7 separate regions of the Homo sapiens genome follow, and regions 1, 2, 3, 4, 5 and 6 are each linked to region 7. The links are contacts of gene promoters, found by promoter capture Hi-C in blood cells and fetal thymus (Javierre and others, 2016). All regions are on one chromosome and are shown on one strand. Each heading gives the region's core, a stretch centred on a gene start or on the middle of the fragment in contact. The rest is flanking DNA. Distances are from core to core; before and after follow the strand shown. Region 1 overlaps ULK4 (unc-51 like kinase 4). Region 2 has its middle 53 kb from the start of ULK4. Region 3 has its middle 32 kb from the start of ULK4. Region 4 has its middle 12 kb from the start of ULK4. Region 5 overlaps ULK4 (unc-51 like kinase 4). Region 6 has its middle 58 kb from the start of TRAK1. Region 7 holds the start of ENTPD3-AS1 (ENTPD3, EIF1B and MYRIP antisense RNA 1).

Region 1 (2,763 bases), core at 209-2,708, 1.5 Mb before region 7:
AATAAAGGGACAAATAGTAAATATTTTAGGGTTTGTGCAGGCTGTAGAGTCAACTCTGTCATAGGCAATATATAGCAGTTTGAAAGCAGCCATAAGCAATATATAAATGAATGGGTGTGGCTATGTTCCAATTAAACTTTATTTACAAAAGCAGGCAGCACACCCAATTTGGCCTATGAGCCAGTAGTATTCATGATACTTGGATTGACTCCTGCAGTCTAGGGATTACATGGAAATATCATTCCATATTTGTTTATACTGTATTTTCACTTGTTTTCTCTTTTACTTCTCATAATTAATAAGGTCTAGGTGGGGCATATGTTTCTCTTTTGCTTCTCAAAATTTATAAGGTTTAGGTGGGGCATACCAGTCAAGACCAGTAGAGGGTCTTGACCGCAAGTTGTCCAGGTTCTTGGCATTTTGAGCAAAGAACTGGACAAAATGCCCAGCACAGCAAGGAAAGAATGAAGCAACAAAAGCATGAAAGCAGGGATTTATTGAAAACGAAAGTACACTCCACAGTGTGGGAGCCACCTGAGCAGCACTGGAGGGCAGGGATACAGATACCCGGTCCAAATACCCCCTAGAGCTTTCCCACTGGCCTCTTCACGCTCACCTCCGGTAAATCAAGTGGTGGCCTGCAATCGGTCTATTGGTTGCAGTCAGCCAATTTCATTGATTCCATTTCATTCATTCATTCATTCCATTCTCTGCAACCAGTCAGATGCTAAGGTGAAGTTACAAAGTTGCAAACCAAGACTACGCCCCAATCAGTCTGATTGGTTGTGGTCATCTGCTGCATAGAAAAGGTGGGGGATTTGCAAAGGGAATAGCCTCTGGTCCTTTTGTTACTTAGGCGTGGAAAGTTAGGGTTTTCCTTTCAATTTAGTTACAGGAAGTCAGTGTGAAACAGCCTTAGGTTCCCTGCCTCCAGACCCTGTTCTCCTGCCTCACATATATTATCCCACTGTGCAGATGTTGTTTTCCCTTGTACCAGGTTTCCATTGTAACGGAGAAAGTAAGATGGAGACACATTGGATAAAATCTAATTCATACCCTGATTTTGTTACCGTTTTTCGAAATAGCTGTTATTTTCACTTTTTTTTTTTTTTTCTGTGAAGGTTTTATGGATAGGGTATGGGGCCTCAGTCCTTCTTTGTGGCCACTTTCTTCATGGCGGGCAGGGCGTTGCTTAGCTCTTCTCTCTTCATCTTGGTGCGGACGTGTCCCCCACTCTCTTCTTGATGAACCTGAGGGCCGTTTGTCCTTGGAAACCTTGAGCAACTCCATGGCGCGCCAGCTCGTAGGGAGTAAAGCCATACATCTTTGGAATAATGTCCCGCATGAACTTGGTGTGCTTGGTCAGTTGCCCACTTTGGCGGTGGCTGGGCCAGGCTTGCTCCCATTTTTGGTAACTCTGTGGCCCTCATCGAGGCCCACGGCCACAGGGTCGCGCAGAGCCATGGCTGCTGGTCTCCAATGGCGGCAGCGGCTGAAGGGCCGACCGCACGGAATGCTGGGATATCTACCCACCCTAGAGGCACGGGCAGCCACTGTGTTTTTAAAACATCTTGTTGATGGGAACTTGAATATTGGTTTGTGAATATTTATTGATTTTTGAGTTGGAGTCTCTCCTTGTCGCCCTGGTTGGAGTGCAGTGGTGCGATCTCGGCTCACTGCAGCCTCCGCCTCCCGGGTTCAAGCGATTCCCCTGCCTCAGCCTCCCGCGTAGCTGGGATTACAGGCGCGCATCACAACACCTGGCCAATTTTTGTATTTTTAGTAGAGACAGGGTTCACCATGTTGGCCAGGCTGGTCTCAAACTCCTGACCTCAGGTGATCCCCCTGCCTCGGCCTCCCAAAGTGCTGGGATTACAGGCGTGAGCCACTGCGCCGGCTGTGAAGTTTTATTTATTTGCCCCGTAGTTTCGTTCATCCTGCAAAAATATCAGCATTAGTATTTAACATTTGTAAGTGAATTTTCTGAATTTGTCGATTTGCTAGATTTTTTACACATATAATATCCTAGGCTAATTATCCTAGGCTAATTAATTATGCAACTAACTTGCATTTATCAATGTCATTTTTGTTTACTTCTTAGGAGCTAGAGATGCTGTTATTCTATTGTATGTGAGAAGTCGGCCCAGAGATGGAAAACTTTATTCTGTATGAGGAGATCGGAAGAGGAAGCAAGACTGTTGTCTATAAAGGGCGACGGAAGGGAACAATCAATTTTGTAGCCATTCTTTGTACTGATAAGTGCAAAAGGCCTGAAATAACCAACTGGGTAAGTCAGTGTATTTCCATTGGCATGGGGAAAGAGAGAGCTACAATAGGTAGAAGGGGGTAGCATTTTCACAGTAGTCATTGAATTTGATATATCAAATGCCACATTTTCAGTCTGGAATGGATGACCTTCATCTGTTCAGTGCCACCAGTCCTGAATAATGAGTAATAAACATATCCAAGTAATGACTAACTTAATTTTCTTTTTTGTTTCTTTTTTTTGGGGGTGGGTATAAATTGGGGAAACTATACTCTTTTTTTTTCTTTCCCTTAGAAACAGGGTCTCTCTCTGTTGCCCAGACTGGAGTGCACTGGGCTCACTATAGCCTCAACTTCCTGGGCTCAGATGATCCTCCCACCTCAGTCTCCAGAGTAGCTGGGACTACAGGCACATACCACCACGCCTGGCTAATTTTTTGTATTTTTCTTTTTTTTTTTTTTTTTTTAAGACGGAGTCTCACTCTGTCGCCCAGGCTA
Region 2 (2,838 bases), core at 303-2,802, 1.6 Mb before region 7:
TCTGCTTACTCTCCTTGGCTCTCTTATGAGCTATATGGTGCTACAGAACAATCGCATCTATAAAAACTCCGACAGCTGACGGAGAGGAGAATGCCCAAGGTCTGTTCTCTACCTTGGGAGCACGAAGTCAAGATGGAGAGCCCAGATGGTTAATTCAAGAATCACCAAACAATTACAGAGGCCTACTATATACAAGGTCAGAGGCAGGGACTCAGAATGCAACGACAGGGACTGGGAGTGGTGGCTTGCGCCTATAATCCCAGCACTTTGGGAGGTCATGGCCAGCAGATCACTCGAGGTCAAGAGTTTGAGACCAGCCTGGCCAAAGTGGTGAAACCCCGTCTCTACTAAAAATACAAAAATTAGCTGGGCGTGGTGGCAGGTGCCTGCAATCCCAGCTACTCGGGAGGCTGAGGCCAAAGAATCACTTGAACCTGTGAGGTGGAGGCCGCAGTGAGCCAAGATCGCACCACTGCACTCTAGCCTCGATGACAGAGCGACACTCTGACTCAAAAAGAAAAAAAAAAACAAAAAACCAGAATGCAATGACAGGAACAAAGTCCACTTAAGATGGCAAACCTTAAGGTGTTGTTAGTTTGGAAAGTGAAAGTTTAAGAACTCCATTCAATGTGAATAGTGCTCTATTATTTTTGAAAGCCCTTTTATTTTTATGTTTTTTGTTTTTGTTTTTGTTTTTGAGATGGGGTCTTGCTCTGTCGCCCTGGCTGAAGTGCAGTGGCGGGATCTTGGCTCAATGAAACCTCTGCCTCCCGGATTCAAGCTATTCTCCTGACTCACCCTCCTTAGTAGCTGGGATTACAGGTGCCCATCATCATGCCCAGCTAATTTTTGTATTTTTAGTAGAGACGGGGTTTCACCATGTTGGCCAGGCTGGTCTCGAACTCCTGACCTTAAGTGATCCACCTGCCTCAGCCTCCCAAAATGCTGGGAATACACGCACAAGTCACCATGCCCGGCCCAAAGCTCTTTTATATTACCTGATTTGACCCTCATAATAAACCTATAAAACAATAATTACTATTATATGCTTTATTATCCCTGTTGGGGCTCAAAAAGCTTACCAAATTACAAACCCAATCATGTTGGAAGGAGACCTGAAAACGCTCCCATGTCATTCAGTCAAACTTTTACAGACACCTCCATTTAAAACATTGTCTCCCAGAGAGGGGAGAGCAGGACAGAGAGGTTAAGTAAGGTCACACAGCCAATAGAGAGGAGTTGGAATTTCAGTCCAGGTTTCCCACTCCAAGACCACAGAGAAGGAGAAGCAACACAGCCAGAGTGGAGACACCCTCAAGCGAGCGCTGGGGATGGGAAACTGGTCCCTGGGGCATCAAACAGGAAACGGCTGGTGCTGGGGCCAAGCTGAAACCCAACTGTTGCCAAACTCGCAGCCCTGAGACAAGGGCTTTAAACCGATTCAGCATCCCCCAGAGCCGGGCTCAGCTTTCCAGCTGGCTTAGGCTACACTGGGCTGGGAACCTCTGTGACAAAGCTGAGGTCCAAGATCAAAGAGCAACCGAGTATGACCATTCCAAACCGAGAGACAGAGGGGAAGGCGCCATCTGTCACTCCAGGTCCAACTCTCCAAACCTACCAGTCAAGCTCCCAGCCTGTTGTCCCTTCACTCAATCTGGGGAGACCCTCCCCAGTGCAGACTGGCTCCAGGGCTAATCAGAGCTTAGTCTGAGCACCTTCCTCTTCGCTGCTCTTGTAGTTGGAAATTGGAAAGGACCCTGGAACTAGACCGTTTCCCTATGGTAACCTCCACTCTCCTTCCAGATAAACAAAAGACCCTCCAGAAAAGGTTACCAGTCCCGAATACACACTCACAGACAGTATTGACAACGTTTACACTTTTGAAGCAAATAAAGTTCCAGTGAAGCATATCAGAAAAAAAAAAAAATCAGCGGTCCAACGACGAATACTCTGAAGGCTCTCAAAGCGGACGCTAATTTCAGTGTCTGAACAAGTGCAGCCACGGGTTCTAAAACAGGCAAGCTTAAAGCGGAAGGGGCACCCAGCACCAGCCTCAAGAGCAGGCCGACTTTTAACATCTTTCCTGAAACACAACTTTACAAAAGAAGAAACGATACAGTTCATTACATTTGTTTTTACCTGCAAGAGCTTGACCTTGGAGACTAGAAAAGAACTTTAAAAATCAGGTCAAGAAAGTGACAAAGTAAACTTGTTAACTCTCAAGGATGCAAAGGAGGGCTCTAAAGGCTCTCTGCTCTCTGACACGCTCAGATGATGTCATTTTCATCAAGTTTTGCGGGTGAGTGGGAATCGGGGTGCTGCCCGCGCTCAGCTCCAGGCTCTTTGAAGGTCGCCTCACTGTCACCTCGGAGTGCCGGAGCGCGGAATCCAGGCCACGCGGCGTGGCCGACACGATGCCCTAGGGGCACTTTTCCGGGCTCCGAGGGCCTCCTGCAGGTGCGGCCGGTGCATTAGGAGGGCTGTCCCCGCAGGGTCCCGGCGCCCGGCCTCTCACGCCGCCACTATCTCACGCGGACACTCCCAGAACACCCGTGTCCTTCCCCAGCCCCTGGGCCCGAGGCGCAGGCGGCGCGGGTGAGCGGACCCCTGGCTTACCCGCAAGAGGTGCACGGAGCGCAACCCGGCAGCAGGCGCGGTGCCGGGGGGCCTCGGTGGGGGCTTCCTCCGCGTCGTTCTCGGCCCGGCCCCGGCCGCCCGGCGGCTTCGGTTCCCTCCGCTGCAGCCGGCCGGGCGGCACGGGGGCACTCGCGGGGGCTCCGCTCTGGCGCCGCCGCCTCCTGCTGCCCGCCTGCCGCTCTGGCGCTCCTGGGCTCGGAG
Region 3 (2,830 bases), core at 210-2,709, 1.5 Mb before region 7:
GGCATGCGCCTATAGTCCCAGCTACTCAGGAGGCTGAGACAGGAGAATCACTTGAACTCAGGAGGCAGAGGTTGCAGTGAGCTGAGATCGTGTCACTGCACTCCAGCCTGGGTGACCAAGTGAGACTCCGACTCAAAAAAAAATGAATAAAAATTAATAATAATAATAATCCGAATAAAAAGGCTAAAAGACCACATGCAAAACACAGTGATGCAAGATGAACCTGGAGTATCTTGTAATGCCAGGAAGTAAAGACATACTAAAACAAAAACTAAACCCACAATCATGGGGTTTATGTCAAAGGGGCATGGGAGTCAACTGAAAAAGTTTCCAGTGGCCAAAGCTGGAAGAATTTGAGCAACAAAATAAATAAAGTAGTATTGGATTATAACTCAAAGTACAAAATAAATATCCATGAATCCATGTTGACATAAATACATAAATGAATAAATACATGGGGAAGAAGAAAAAAAATCTCCCATACAGAAGAATTCCAAATAAAGTATGTAGAACTCCACTTCTAACAGATGGAGCATAACTCCCACTCTGTCTGTGTGGGCTGTGCTTAGTGACTTCCTTCAAAAGAGTACAGTATGGCTTGGGCATCGTGGCTCATGCCTGTAATCCCAGCACTTTGGGAGGCCAAGGTGGGCAGATCACCTGAGGTCAGGCGTTCGAGACCAGCCTGGCCAACATGGCAAAACCCTGTCTCTGCTAAAAATACAAAAATTAGCCGGGTATGGTGGTGCACACCTGTAGTCCCAGCTACTCGGGAGGCTGAGGCAGAAGACAGGAGAATCACTTGATCCCGGGAGATGAAGGTTGCAGTGAGCTGGGATTGCGCCACTGCACTCCAGAGTGAGACTCTGTTTCAAAAACAAACAAACAAAAAAAGAGTACCTTCACAGTGGAGACAGTTGACAAACACTTCCTCAGGCAGTGAGGTGATCAAGATTGACTCAACAGTAATAAGTCATGCCAATAGTATGTTCCCTTAGTAGTATGTGATGGGAATGGCACTTTATCTCCTTTATCTCCATGCTCCTCCTCCCCAAAACCAATAGCCCCAGTCTGGTTATGAGAAAAAGATCAGACAAATACCAATTAAGTGACAGTCTAAAAATACCTGATCAGCAATTCTCAAAATTGAAAGGTCATCAGAAACTAGGAAAGTATGAAAGACTGTCAGAGGCAGAACCCAAAGAGACAAGATGATTAAATGTAATGGGGTATCCTGGATGGGATCCTGGAACAGAAAAAGGACATTCAGTAACAACTAAGTAAATATGAACAAAATGAGGACTATCATTAATAACAAGCATCAGTATATGTTCATTAATTATGACAAATGTACCATACTAATGTAAGAGGTTAATAGTAGGGGAAACTGGGCGTGGGGCATATGGAGACAATTTGTATTATCTTTTTAATTTTTCTGTGAATCTAAAATTATTCTAATATAAAAGGTTTATTTTAAAAATAGTGATAAACATTGAAACCAGTATGATTTAAAGTTTAAATAATTTGGCCAGGCATGGTGGCTCACACCTGTAATCCCAGCACTTTGGGAGGTCAAGGCTGATGGATCACTTGAGGTCAGGGGTTTGAGACCAGCCTGACCAACATGGTGAAACTCTGTCTCTACTAAAAATGTAAAAATTAGCTGGGCGTGGTGGCACATGCCTGTAGTACCAGCTACTCCAGAGGCAGAGGTGAGAGAATCACTTGAACCCGGGAGGCAGAGGCTGCAGTGAGCCAAGATCATGCCATTGCACTCCAGCCTGGGCAACAGAAGGAGACTCCATCTCAAAAAATAAAATAAAATAAAATAAAATAAAGTTTAAATAATTTGTTCCTCATAGTATAGTGGTTAAATATTTTTAAAAGAAAAAGTTTAAATAATTTGTAATATGATGAAGATAGTTAATGAATTGGTTACTAAAGAAATGTTTAAGTATAAAAAGTAAATATAATTTCAAGTTAAAATATGCTATTTCTACAAAATCTGGGAAGTCATAGGAGAAGGAAGAGGATGGAGAAACGAGGTAAATTGAGAGGTTTCACCCGGGCGTGGAGGCTCATGCTTGCAATCCCAGCACTTTGGGAGGCCAAGGCGGACAGATCACTTGAGGCCAGGAGTTCGAGACCGGCCTGGGCAACATGGCAAAACCCTGTCTCTACCAAAAATACAAAAATTAGCCAGGTGTGGTGGTGCGTACCTATAGTCCCAGCTACTCGGGAGGCCGAGATGGGAGGATCGATTGAGGCCTGGAGGTCGAGGCTACAGTGAGCTATGATTGTGCCACTGAACTCCAGCCTGGGTAACAGAGCAAGAACCTCTATAACTAACTAACTAACTAACTAACTAACTAACTAAATAAATAAATAAATAAATAAATAAATGTAGGTTTCATCCTGTGCTGTGTATAGTTTTTATGGAGAAATATAATTTTTTTAGATATTAGGTGTTAACTGAAATTGTTATAGGACACCTAAATCAATAGAGGAGAAACTGATAAAGCATAATATAGTCAAAACATGAAATATGACAAGAATAAGGCCAATGAGTTATCAATGGTTATAGTAAATATTAAAAGGTTAAATTCTCCTTTAGAAAGAGAAGGCTTGAGACCGGGAGTGGTGGATCACACCTGTAATCCCAGCATTTTGGGAGGCCGAGGCAGGTGGATCACAAGGTCAGGAGATCAAGACCATCCTGGCTATCACACTGAAACCCCATCTCTACTAAAAATACAAAACAATTAGCCGGGCATGGTGGCGGGTGCATGTAGTCCCAGCCACTTGGGAGGCTGAGGCAGGAGAATGGTGT
Region 4 (2,829 bases), core at 286-2,785, 1.5 Mb before region 7:
TTTTAAAGCCACAGAGGAAATGTTAAACTGTTGGCACCACCCTATCACATAGGAATTTATCCTCAGACAAAAAACCTGACATGCTTGCCAAGATTGATGTATAAGAATGTTCTTTTCAGTGTTAACTCTGTACCAGGAAAGAGGAAAGGAAACTAGCTTTTATTCTGGACAAGGAGAGAGCACCTCTCCCTTGTCCTATTGGAGATTGTTCAGGGAGGCTGACCTAATAGTTTGGCCTGAATTTGTAAGAGAAAACTTTAAATTATAATAATCTGCAAATTCTTTGAATTGCTGAAGGTAAATATCAGGGATGGGAGACATTTGTTTAGGAAAACTCTTTAATGATGTTTGCAGATAACAGATTAGGTCAGTTTCATCTAGAGGGAAGTGATTAATAGAGATTTCAAATGCTGCCCCAGACTACATAATAGGACTTATAAATAATTTTTCCCTGAAGACAAGGAAGAAAGAGGGGGAAGTCCAAGACTGGGTAGAAGAGGTGAGAAGGGAAAATAGAAAGAGCTTCAGGCAGAGCCCTAGGTTACCTGTGAGTGTGAGGCATCACGCTTACATGTATATATATGTGTATACCTATATACATATACAAATGTATATGCAAACAGTTCTTTTAAAAGAACTATTGAAGAAAATCAGAATATATGTATTCATATGTGTATAATGCATATATGTGTATATATATGTACACATTTACATATCTGTAATGTATAGGTATATACACATATATACACATGTATACATTATAGATATTTTATATATTACATGTGTATATACACACATATAATTGTATACACACATATATAATTTTAAAATAAGCATTTAAATCATATGATGTACAGGCCGAGTGTGGTGGCTCACACCTGTAATCCCAGCATTTTGGGAGACCAAGGCAGGCAGATCACTTGAGGTCAGCAGTTGGAGACAAGCCTGACTAACATGGTAAAACTCCGTATCTACTAAAAAATACAAAAATTAGCCAGGTGTGGGTGGTGCGTGCTTGTAGTCCCAACTACTTGGGAGACTGCAGCAGGAGAATCACTTGAACCCGGGAGGTGGAGGTTGCAGTGACCCGAGATCATATCACTTCCTAGAAGTGGAATTGCTGGATTGAATGGGGATGTGCATTTGCCATTTTCATGAATACTGCCAAATTGCTCTCCCATCAGCACTGTGCAAGTGCCTGCTTTCTACTACCCTTACCATCACCATGTTTAATACTCAATTTTAAGTTGTTTTCTTTCTATGCTGCAACTTCTCTCTGTTATTGCCACACATTCAGTAAAAGTATGTGTCACAGAGTAACATGGGCTTTGGGGAATGAAGAAGGAGAAGGAAAGTACTTTTAAAGGTGCTGTTGAAGAAGATCAGAACATGCCATCCCAAAACATGCCACTTAGACATATCGACTATTTTGAACTGAAGGCAACTGAGAGACAGCTGATTTCAGGGTCATGCTTGTTAATACTTGGATGAGAGAAACAGCAGATGCAGGAAGTGTTCCCTAACCTCCTCTTTCTACCTAAAAGGAGGGCATAAATTTCCTGCCAGAAAGTTACCCTCTCTGCACCAGGAAAAAGAGAACATTCTTATCAATGGTGGTGGGGAATTGACACCAACATGAATCTGTTGAAACAAACCTTACTAAAATAATACATCTGGCTGGGTGCAGTGGCTCATACCTGTAATCCCAACACTTTAGGAGGCTGAGATGGGTTGATCACTTGAGGCTAGGAGTTCAGGACCACCCTGGTCAACATGCGGAAACCCTATCTCTACCAAAAATACAGAAATTATTCAGGTGTGGTGGCACACATGTGTAGGCCCAGCTACTCGAGAAGCTGAGGCAGGAGAATTGCTTGAACCCGGGAGGCAGAGGTTGCAGGGAGCTCAGATTATGCCACTGCACTCCAGCCTGTGTGACAGAGTGAGACTGCCCCTTAGCTCAAATCTCTTTTTCCATTGCCTCTTCATGTTTCTACATTTTATTGCTCTTTGTTAAAATGATATATAAGCCCCTGGGTCTAGTCATTTATTTGAGTCTTCCTTTCTTTTCTACGAAGGCCTCCATGTGCACATAAAATTTAGAATATTATCAAACAAAATTTGTATGCTTTTCTCCTGTTAATCTGTCTTTGGTCAGTGAAAGTCACAGGTCTCAGTCACAGAACTTATAAGAATAGAGGAAAAAAAGGTCCCCTTCTACACTGTCAAATGTGTGAGGGGAAGCAGGGTCAGATGAGACTAGCATGTGCTAGAGATAAGATGATGAGAAGGAAGCAAGACTTAAGGAATTTGTTGTGAGAAAAGACCAAAAAATATTATTTCCCTGAAAATCCAGTCTACTCTGGAGTTGCCAAGTATGTGCAATGGATGCTGGAATCATTAATATGGTTATTAAAGGAAAAAGACATCCCAGAAGGCCACAGATTTTAAGGACTCTTAGGTTGTTATTATAAGGGTGAAAATCTCCCATCCAAGAGGGAGACGGTGTCTGGCTCTTCCAGTGTATTCACTAATACACTAGTGCTGGAAGAATTATCGTGCTACTTCCCAGGTCTTCCAGAGTAAACGGGAGCATCAGTCTTGAAGCTCCCAGCCTCCAGTTTCTGTCTTTAGGAGAATCCATTCCCTGAGTTGGTAATCTGAGAGTGGAGCACGCTATATCCTAAAGAGGACTGGAGACCCCATGACATCATAGCCAGCTTTACAACCTGGAAGAGCACCATGGAAACCATCTCCTGCCTTCTAAATTTATGCCCCTGGCTAGTGGATTTTTGCCTTCTATTTCATTAATTTCTGCTTTTATCTTTG
Region 5 (2,833 bases), core at 46-2,545, 1.5 Mb before region 7:
AGTCAGTTTCTCTTTTCATGTATTAAGTAGTTGACAAATTTTCTTATAACTCCCAAATCCAAGAGGTACCATTTCTTGTATTTTGTATTTCAGGCTAAAACTGTTTGACTATTGACCGAGGGATGATATTGTCAAGTTAAGATGCTGTTAACTGAGTGTCATAAAAACAGGTTTTATGACACTCCTGTCATAATGGGGCTATTAAGTGATAGGATAATAGGCACCTTGTGAATTTTCTGTCAGTGATGGCAATGTTAGAAATCATTGTTGAGGCACAGGGTAGGGGAGGCTAGGAGGTAGACCAGAGTGGGAAAGAGGCCCAAACAACTAGTTTCTAGTTCTGGTTCTGTCACTAGGTAACTGGGATGGGGTGATGGGAGGAGGGTTCCGTTTATAAAATGGAGAATAAATTTAGTGTAGCATATACAAGAATCCATTCTTTTATTAAATATATTTTAAAAACTGCAGAAGGAAATGCTGATTTTTGTATAAGCTGTAGGACAAACATCCTTTACTTATATTAGAATGCTTTCAACATTAGTGTTATTTTGGTGGATAATTTTTCAGACATCTTTTGATAGGATGTAACTATACCTAATTTACTTAAGACGGTGTATCCACATATCCCTACATTTATAACTGTATGCTATATAATTTTTTGCTTACATGGGACCACTCCATAACCTACTTTTTTCTCTCATGGTACATTATGCATATTTTTCCATTTCCATTTCTGAGTCTTGCTCTGTCACCCAGGCTGGAGTGCAGTGGCACAATCTTGGCTCACTGCAACCTGGGTTCAAGTGTTTCTCATGCCTCAGCCTCCCAAGTAGCTGGGATTTCAGGCGCGTGCCACCATCCTCAGCTAATTTTTGTGTTTTTAGTAGAGATGGGGTTTCACCATGTTGGCTATGCTGGTCTCGAGCTCCTGGCCTCAAGCAGTTCCGCCTGCCTCGGCCTCCCAAAGTGCTGGGATTTCAGGTGTGAGCCACTGTACCTGGCTGCCTGGTCATTTTAAATGGCTGTAGAACGTATATACAATTACCTATAAAAAAGTAAACGTTTAGAATGCCTCTTGATTTGGAATATTATATGTGTTGTTACAGTAAATATCCTTTTGTGAATTTTTAAAATTTTTTTGGGTTTACTTGGTTAGTTATCTCTTTGATGTGAATTTCTCAAAATGAAATGGCTGGCCAAAGGCTAAGAGCATTTAAAAAGTTTGATACATTTCCTGCATTCTAGGAACATGTGCTGATTTACACTCCCAGCAACAATATGTTAGAAAGCTCCTTCCCTCCCACTCTCATCTACAGTGTGCCTTGTTGATCTACATTTTTGTCAGTTTGATGGATGAAAATACATTTTACTTTGTTGGCTATTTTTATTTCTCCTTTAGTGAACCATAAGAACCTTTGTGTAAAGGAATATTATATGTGGTTGCAAATTCTATTATTTGTGTTTTACTTTTGATTGAAGTAATTTTATTTAATACAGAAATTTTGAATGATTAGTCGACTATAAATTCTTTTCTTTTTTGTTTTAAAATTTCAGTCAGGCTTAATTTTCCCACTCTGGTGAGTATATCTAGAGGTATACTCTATTAGTAGTGAAACTTAATCTTTTGAAAGTGAGCCTGAGTTTTAAATACAACCTAAAGTCATTTTAATGCAAGTGAACTAGCTAGGTAATATTATTTTGATTCCTAAACAAGGTGTGAATGTATATGGTTATGAAGCTGATATTCTTTCCTCCCACCGCCGCACCCCCTCCCGGAGACGGGGTCTCACTCTGTCACCCAGGCTGGAGTGCAGTGGTGTGATCTTGGCTCACTGCAACCTCTCCCTCCCAGGCTCAAGAGATTCTTCCACCTCAGCCTCCCAAGTAGCTGGGATTATAGGTGTGGGCCCCCACACCCAACTAATTTTTGTATTTTTTGTAGAGATGGGGTTTTGCCACATTGTCCAGGCTGGCCTCAAAATCATGGACTCAAGCAATCTACCCACCTTGGCCTCCCAAAATGCTGGGATTACAGGTGTGAGCCACTACACCTGGGCTGATATTCTTATTTATTCCTGAATGAATTTCCAACAGAATAGTTCCAAAACTTAAATGTGTCAGTTAGGGTAAGTAAAATAATCTTGCCTCTGTTGTGAAATAAAGGATGACAGGATTATAGATATCTGATATATTTACTTTAGAATTTCAAATTACGCTGAGCACGGTGGCTCACGCCAGTAATCCCAGCACTTTGGGAGGCGGAGGCGGGTGGATCACGAGGTGAGGAGATCGAGACCACCCTGGATAACACGGTGAAATCCCGTCTCTACTAAAAATACAAAAAATTATCCAGGCGTGGTGGCGGACGCCTGTAGTCCCAGCCACTCGGGAGGCTGAGGCAGGAGAATGGCGTGAACCCGGGAGGCAGAGTTTGCAGTGAGCCGAGATCGCGCCACTGCACTCCAGCCTGGGTGACAGAGCCAGCCTCCGTCTCAAAAAAAAAAAAAAAAAAAAAAGAATTTCAAATTATTTATCGACTCCGTTTTTCCTAGGCTGGTTGGAGAAACCAGACTCTATGGAATTTGAACCCTGAAACTTCTAATGCTTAGTTATCAGACTGTTTCATTCTGTACCATTTAATGCTTCTGAATTGTTTCTTTTTATCTTGCTGTCTAAAAGAGGTTAATAGCATACAAAAATGAAATAATAAAATATAAAATGATTTCAAAGGTACATGTGTACCTTGTAAAATCTGCTATGTGTAATTGGGACATGTCTTGGGAATTTTTCATGGTAAATCATGTTAAAGTAGAGTTTTAACATTTATGTTTTT
Region 6 (2,896 bases), core at 371-2,870, 1.6 Mb before region 7:
GAAGACTAACGAAATACAACAGGAGCCAGATGCAGTGGCTCATGTCTGTAATCCCAGCCCTTCAGGAGACTGAGGCGGGCAGACCACTTGAGCCCAGGAGTTAGACCATCCGGGACAACATGGAGAAACCTCATCTCTATAAGAAATACAAAAATTAGCCAGGTGTAGTGGCGCATGCCTGTGGTCCCAGCTATTCAGGAGGCTGAGGTGGGAGAATCACCTGAGCCCAGGGAGGTCGAGGCTGCAGTGAGCCGTGATTGTGCCACTGCACTCCAGCCTGGGTGACACAGTGAGACTCTGTCTCAAATTTTTTAAAAAAGGACCCTATGACCCAGCTGACACTGGTTTACAGGGTCACCATGCTGGATTGATAGGTGACTATGTGATTTCTCCAGCAGCTCTCAGAAGGCAGGGGCAGAGTCCTGCCAGGTGCACAAAGGAAGGACAATGGGTGCTCACTGATGAAAGAATGGGGTGCAGGGGAAAAGCCAGAACATGGATGGGGCAAGGAATGTCTGCAGAGGGATAGGAGGACTGGCATTCAGGGAACAAGGTGATTGTACTCAGGATTTCAGATGAACAGGTAACTCCAGGAGATGACACAGTCCAGGCTATGACCAGGGCAGTGGGTGAAGCAGGGTGGAGAAGCCACCACTGGACAGGAGATGGATCAAGATGCTAGGTGAGTCATTGGAACCCAGAATGATGCAGCGGTATGTCAGGGGAAGATGATCTTGAGCCAAATCTCCCAGTCTTCAAGGAATGAGGCAGAGAGTCTGGGAGTAGAGGGAGGAAAAAGAGAAAATATCAACACATCACCTGTCCCAAAGGAATGGAGATCAGAGATCTCCTTCACCGAATGCATCTTACATGCTGTCAACAAGCAAGAGCAAGGCAGAACTTTATATATATTGCCTTATCTAATCCCCACAACCACACTACACAGTCTTATTCTAGATGAAAAAACTGTGGCTCATAGGCTAAGGACCTGCCCAAAATCACAGATTATTGATTGATTGATTGATTGAGACAGGGTCTTGCTCTGTTGATTGGGCTAGAATGCAGTGGCCCAGTCACAGCTCACTGCAGCCTCAAATTCCTGGGGTCAAGTGATCCTCCTGCCTCAGCCCCTCAATAGCTAAGACCACAGGCGTGTGCCACCACGCCTGGCTAATGTTAAATTTTTTTGTAGAGATGAGGTCTCACTACATTACCCAGGCTACCAAGATCACAGATCTTAAACATGCTGAATCCAGAATTTGAGGTTCAGGCTTCCAAACACCAAAGCCGCTCCGCCCCACCACATTCACAGAACGACAGCATAGATTGCATTATTTATGCCCCAGCAATCCCTTATCCCCACACCAGAGCTCTCTAATTGCGCCTCACACATTTCCAAGGAGGAGGGGTCACAGACTGCCAGGCTGCTGGGTAATAAGCACCGGCTGTCCTCTTGAATGGCTTACTGTACTGGCTGAGATGGGAGGCCGCGGTAATTACCCAGAGCCCATTAAAAAGCACTGGGAATGTGATGTGCTAATACTTCCAGAACAAACACATCGAAATATTGGTTTTTAAGGAAACACTGGCCTAGAATTTATATTTCTAAAAAAGCTGACTTGATCATAACTCCACAGGAAAAATTCCTTCCCACATTTCCAAACAAGCCAGTCAGTGGTTTGTTTTGTTTCAAGAGTAGGTCTCACTCTGTTGTCCACGCTGGAGTGCAGGTGGCGCAATCATGGCTCACCACAGCCTTGAACTCTCGGGCTCAAGAGATCCTCCCACCTCGGCCTCTGAGTAGCTGGAACGACAGGCACGCACCGCTATGCCTGGCAGCCAGTGTTTTAATTCCAATGGCAACATAGTTTCATTATAAGAAGAAAAGCAGCCTACCACACTTGTTTTATGGGGTTACAAAATGTTTGCTGCCAGACTGGGAGCAAAAAGAAACCCTGAGGAAATAAAAGATATGACAATAGTCTTGTTGCCAACATTAATACAAAAGACAGCCAATGGTATTCATCTGGCTCTTAATTTGTTTGATATTTATTTATTTGGATATCAATAAGACATAGAGGAAAAGCCTGAGAAGAGGCTGGAGGTTGCAAAGATGGTTTTTTTTTTTTTTTTCAGGTTGACCCACTCCGGGTGTATTTGAGCAAAATCTTGGGGCTTCCCACAGTACTTGGCAAGACACGCCTGGCTACGAACAACATGGGACAATGGGCAGCCTCGCTGCACTGCACAGAGGAAAGGAAAGAGGCCTTGCAGCCACTGCCTGGGAAGGAGCAGCACATTCTGCATTAACCAGGCATGCCTCACTCACTGCAATCCCCAAACAAGCCCAACTCTCCGTGTTGATTATTCTTACCATACTCCACCAGAAAGCAGCATGATTTTCTGTCCTCAAATACTTCAGATTCCAAGAGAACTGCACCTTCTAGAGTCTCTACTGATAACCTCAGCCACTTACCCACTTGAAGCATCAGCACACACTTAAAAAGGAAACCCGCTAAGCACTCCTGACTCAGTCTCTCCAGGCCTGCGGGTGAAGGAGCTGATTCCCCTCACTTTTCAGAAGATGGGGAAGAATTCAGACTTCACCCCATGCCCCATCCCTTCCCCGCCCCCTAACCCATGCTGTGCTCAGAGCCAGCAGCTTTGCAGGGAGGGAACTAATCTCAGATTGTTGAGGTGAGCAAGAGTGATAATGATGAGCCTTGGATCAGCTGTTTAATCTTTTTATACTCTCCCTGGTCCCTGAAATTCTGATCTTTACTCTGGGGGCATTTTATTATCCATGCCGTGAGGAAACTGGAAACGCACCTCAGACAGCCCCACTCTTAAAAGGATCATTTTGAAAACAGTAAATTTCAAATGAGGCACTGCATCC
Region 7 (2,700 bases), core at 201-2,700:
TTGCTGCCCACGTAGGTGTTGTTTCGTTCCAGTTAGAATAAGTTCCATGAGGGCAGGACCTTTGCTGTCTTTTCTGTTTTATTTTCTCACCTTAGTCTGGTAAGGGGCTCAATAAATAGGTAGTGAATGAATCAGTCTTTAGGTCTTGTTGTCTTGCTTTATAATTTACAAAGCAAAAGATATGAATGAAGAAGAATGTTCATTTTAGCATTTTTTTTGCTACTATCTCCAAACTGGAAATTACCCAAAGGCCCATAAACAAGAGACTGGATAAATTGTGATAACAATCTATAGCAACGGAGTCTACAGCAACTACATGGAACAATGCGGATGAATTTCATAAATAACACTAACAAATAAGCTGACACAATATATCCTGTATGCTTTTATTTATATCAAATTCAAAACAGGCAAAACTAATCTACAGTTCTTATAAGTAATGATCATATTTACCTTTGGTGCAGGCAGCAGTGGCTAAAGGGGAAAAGGGGAGCTTCTGAGCTGCTGGCCATGTTGTTTCTTCATCTGGTGTTAACTACGGGAGTGTGTTATTATTTTTGTTTTAAATTTTTTTAGAGACGGGTCTTGCTATGTTGCCCAGGCTGATCTGGTACTCCTGGCCTCAAGCCATTCTCCTGCCTAAGCCTCCCGAGTAGCTGGGATTAGGGGCACGGGCCACCCCGCCTGGCTGAAGTGTTTGCTTGTGAAAATTCAGAGCCCTATCCATATGGTTTATGCGTTTTCTCACCAAATGTATGTTAACCTAAAAAGTTTTTTTTTAATGCAGTTTCCTGGCTGTACAACCAGAGAACTTTATTTGCAGGTCTGGTGAGGGGCAAGAATCTGCATATAAAAACAAGCTCTCAAACACACTTTGAACTTCCCCGAACACAATTTGAGAAACACTTTGGGACTCCCCCTACAGTTACAGAATTATTTTCTAAAGTACATTATCTTGTTATATCACTCCTGTTTAAAGTTGATTTTTATCCCCTATCTTACAGGATATAGTCCAAACTCCCTAGTCTGGCATTCAAGGCACTCCAAAATCTTACTCCCAAACACCTTCCTAGCTTTTTTCTCCGACCATTCTGCGTCTCTCATTCCTATTTCCCGCAGCATTTCATGCAGCTTGAGCCCCCTGTTTCCTAAAATGTGCTCCCCACAAGCATCTCGAGATCCCCATCCCAGGCAGCCCCAGGCAGTTTTTAAGTTTCTACCAAGCTCCACTATACTGGCAAGGCAACTTTCCCCAAGCAAGTCTTGTTTCCTTCGGAAGGTCGCAGGCGCCCAGGAATGAACAGGATAACTGCTAGTGGCTCCAGATGTCAGAAAACAGATGACCAGATCGAGCACGCGCAGATCTCTGGTTGGTCGGCTGTGTGCCTCCGGAAGGCCCGCCCTGCTCGTCCAATCACGGAGAGGGAGGGCACGTTGAGAGTGATGCCAGGAATCAAGATGGCCGCCTGGGACCGCTCTCAGCCCCTTCGGCCTCTACCTGAAGAGCCACGCCCCGTCTGCTACACCCAACTGATTGGTTCCTCAATCACAGAGAGGAAAGGCAACATGAGGATGACGTCAGTTACAAATATGGCGTTTTGGACGGGCTCGATAGTTTGCTTGGCCTCTACTCAAGGTGCGTCCGGACGTCCAATCACCAAGGGGCGCAGTCGGCTCTTAAATGTGGAGGCAGGGGCCTAGACACTCAGGCTTAGGGGATGTCAGCTGGTACTGTGTACGAGCTGTCCTGTAAACCGTCGCCCGTCCCCTGAAGCCGCGCCCCTCTTCTCTTGCTTGTTGCAAGGGACGGATGTGAAGGGCTGGGCGGGCGTCGAGCTTTGGGTTCTTGCAGTGGGTCATAGACCTGAGGGCACTAGTCCCGCGGCCCAGATGGGGGATGCGAGGGACAGTAGGAGCACGTCCACTTGTCCCACAGTCTCTGCGGTGTCACGAGGCCAGGACTGCCTGCCTGTAACCAGATTGGCCCCTGTATTTGTCAGCTTCAGCTGACTAGATATGTCTCAGTTTTGTTTGTTCAGACACTGGCGATGGGGGCGTCAGTTTAGCAGACAAAATATTTACCTGTAGCCCCAAAGAAAAAGAAACATAAGTCAGTACAAGAATCAAACCAAAAGCTGTGCAGAACCCTGACTTTCTTTCTTGTTCTTAATAACTAACCTTCCAGAGAAGTGACCTAACCCTAGTTATGACCAAATTGACATGGTAGCCATGTGCATAACTACCTGGCAACGTGGACAGGTGCATTTGTATTTAGGAGTGAAAAAATGTTTGTTGTATCAGTTTTTGAAATTTGCAATCTTAGGAACCCTGAAGCTGAGCAAGACTGTTCAAGCCCAGTCAGCCTAAGACCACCAGGGACAAACCTGTAGTCAGCAAAACCAGGTCTATCGATCTTTTTTAATGAGGGAGATTGCACACCAGAGACACCATGGGACATTTTACCAGGGGAAGGAAAATATAAAGTTACAGGATTTTGAGGAAGTGTAAAGTTTAGATGGAACTTAAATGAAGCAGGGTTTTAATAGCCTCAAAACAAAGCAGGACTGTGAAAAAGGGTCAACATCAGGCCTAGACTGCAGAGTGGACCCATTGTCCTGTTTTTTTGAAAACCTTTTCTGAAGCTTTGCAACTGGCTGCTTGTAAATTGAAGCTGTATCTCTGTGTTAAAGTGACTTAGGT

What was found. Contacts are between HindIII fragments. The CHiCAGO score rates a contact against its expected background, and 5 or more counts as called.
Region 1: a contact is called between a fragment that was not itself captured here and the fragment with the promoter of ENTPD3-AS1 in region 7, in 8 of 17 cell types (naive CD8 T cells, non-activated CD4 T cells, activated CD4 T cells and 5 more). The highest score is 16.4, in naive CD8 T cells.
Region 2: a contact is called between a fragment that was not itself captured here and the fragment with the promoter of ENTPD3-AS1 in region 7, in 13 of 17 cell types (non-activated CD4 T cells, naive CD8 T cells, activated CD4 T cells and 10 more). The highest score is 21.4, in non-activated CD4 T cells.
Region 3: a contact is called between a fragment that was not itself captured here and the fragment with the promoter of ENTPD3-AS1 in region 7, in 1 of 17 cell types (monocytes). The highest score is 5.3, in monocytes.
Region 4: a contact is called between a fragment that was not itself captured here and the fragment with the promoter of ENTPD3-AS1 in region 7, in 1 of 17 cell types (neutrophils). The highest score is 6.5, in neutrophils.
Region 5: a fragment that was not itself captured here is called in contact with the fragment with the promoter of ENTPD3-AS1 in region 7 in 4 of 17 cell types (monocytes, total CD4 T cells, non-activated CD4 T cells and 1 more); the score reaches 8.9 in monocytes.
Region 6: a contact is called between a fragment that was not itself captured here and the fragment with the promoter of ENTPD3-AS1 in region 7, in 2 of 17 cell types (naive B cells and naive CD8 T cells). The highest score is 5.8, in naive B cells.

The regions. Positions count from the first base shown.
Region 1 is chr3:41,954,146-41,956,908 of GRCh38, reverse strand. ULK4 (unc-51 like kinase 4) reads left to right here. Exons shown (of 37, transcript NM_017886.4): 2 at 2,102-2,287. The coding sequence starts at 2,150. It also overlaps the pseudogene RPL36P20. Among named protein-coding and RNA genes, the nearest start is that of ULK4, 6.6 kb to the left of the region's middle. The HindIII fragment of the contact is 6,668 bases long and covers 1-2,763 here.
Region 2 is chr3:42,013,896-42,016,733 of GRCh38, reverse strand. It overlaps a transcript of TRAK1 not described here. Among named protein-coding and RNA genes, the nearest start is that of ULK4, 53 kb to the right of the region's middle. RefSeq lists enhancers at 1,398-1,899, 2,293-2,432 and silencers at 2,623-2,692, 2,753-2,838. The HindIII fragment of the contact is 945 bases long and covers 1,080-2,024 here.
Region 3 is chr3:41,993,080-41,995,909 of GRCh38, reverse strand. No RefSeq gene overlaps it. Among named protein-coding and RNA genes, the nearest start is that of ULK4, 32 kb to the right of the region's middle. The HindIII fragment of the contact is 8,427 bases long and covers 1-2,830 here.
Region 4 is chr3:41,972,864-41,975,692 of GRCh38, reverse strand. No RefSeq gene overlaps it. Among named protein-coding and RNA genes, the nearest start is that of ULK4, 12 kb to the right of the region's middle. The HindIII fragment of the contact is 3,700 bases long and covers 1-2,829 here.
Region 5 is chr3:41,912,905-41,915,737 of GRCh38, reverse strand. All of the region lies in intron 8 of ULK4 (unc-51 like kinase 4), which reads left to right. Among named protein-coding and RNA genes, the nearest start is that of ULK4, 48 kb to the left of the region's middle. The HindIII fragment of the contact is 3,179 bases long and covers 1-2,833 here.
Region 6 is chr3:42,031,718-42,034,613 of GRCh38, reverse strand. It overlaps a transcript of TRAK1 not described here. Among named protein-coding and RNA genes, the nearest start is that of TRAK1, 58 kb to the left of the region's middle. The HindIII fragment of the contact is 8,766 bases long and covers 1-2,896 here.
Region 7 is chr3:40,452,058-40,454,757 of GRCh38, reverse strand. ENTPD3-AS1 (ENTPD3, EIF1B and MYRIP antisense RNA 1) reads left to right here and starts at 1,450. Exons shown (of 4, transcript NR_040100.1): 1 at 1,450-1,636. RefSeq lists enhancers at 1,557-1,626, 1,647-1,716. The HindIII fragment of the contact is 7,917 bases long and covers 1-2,644 here.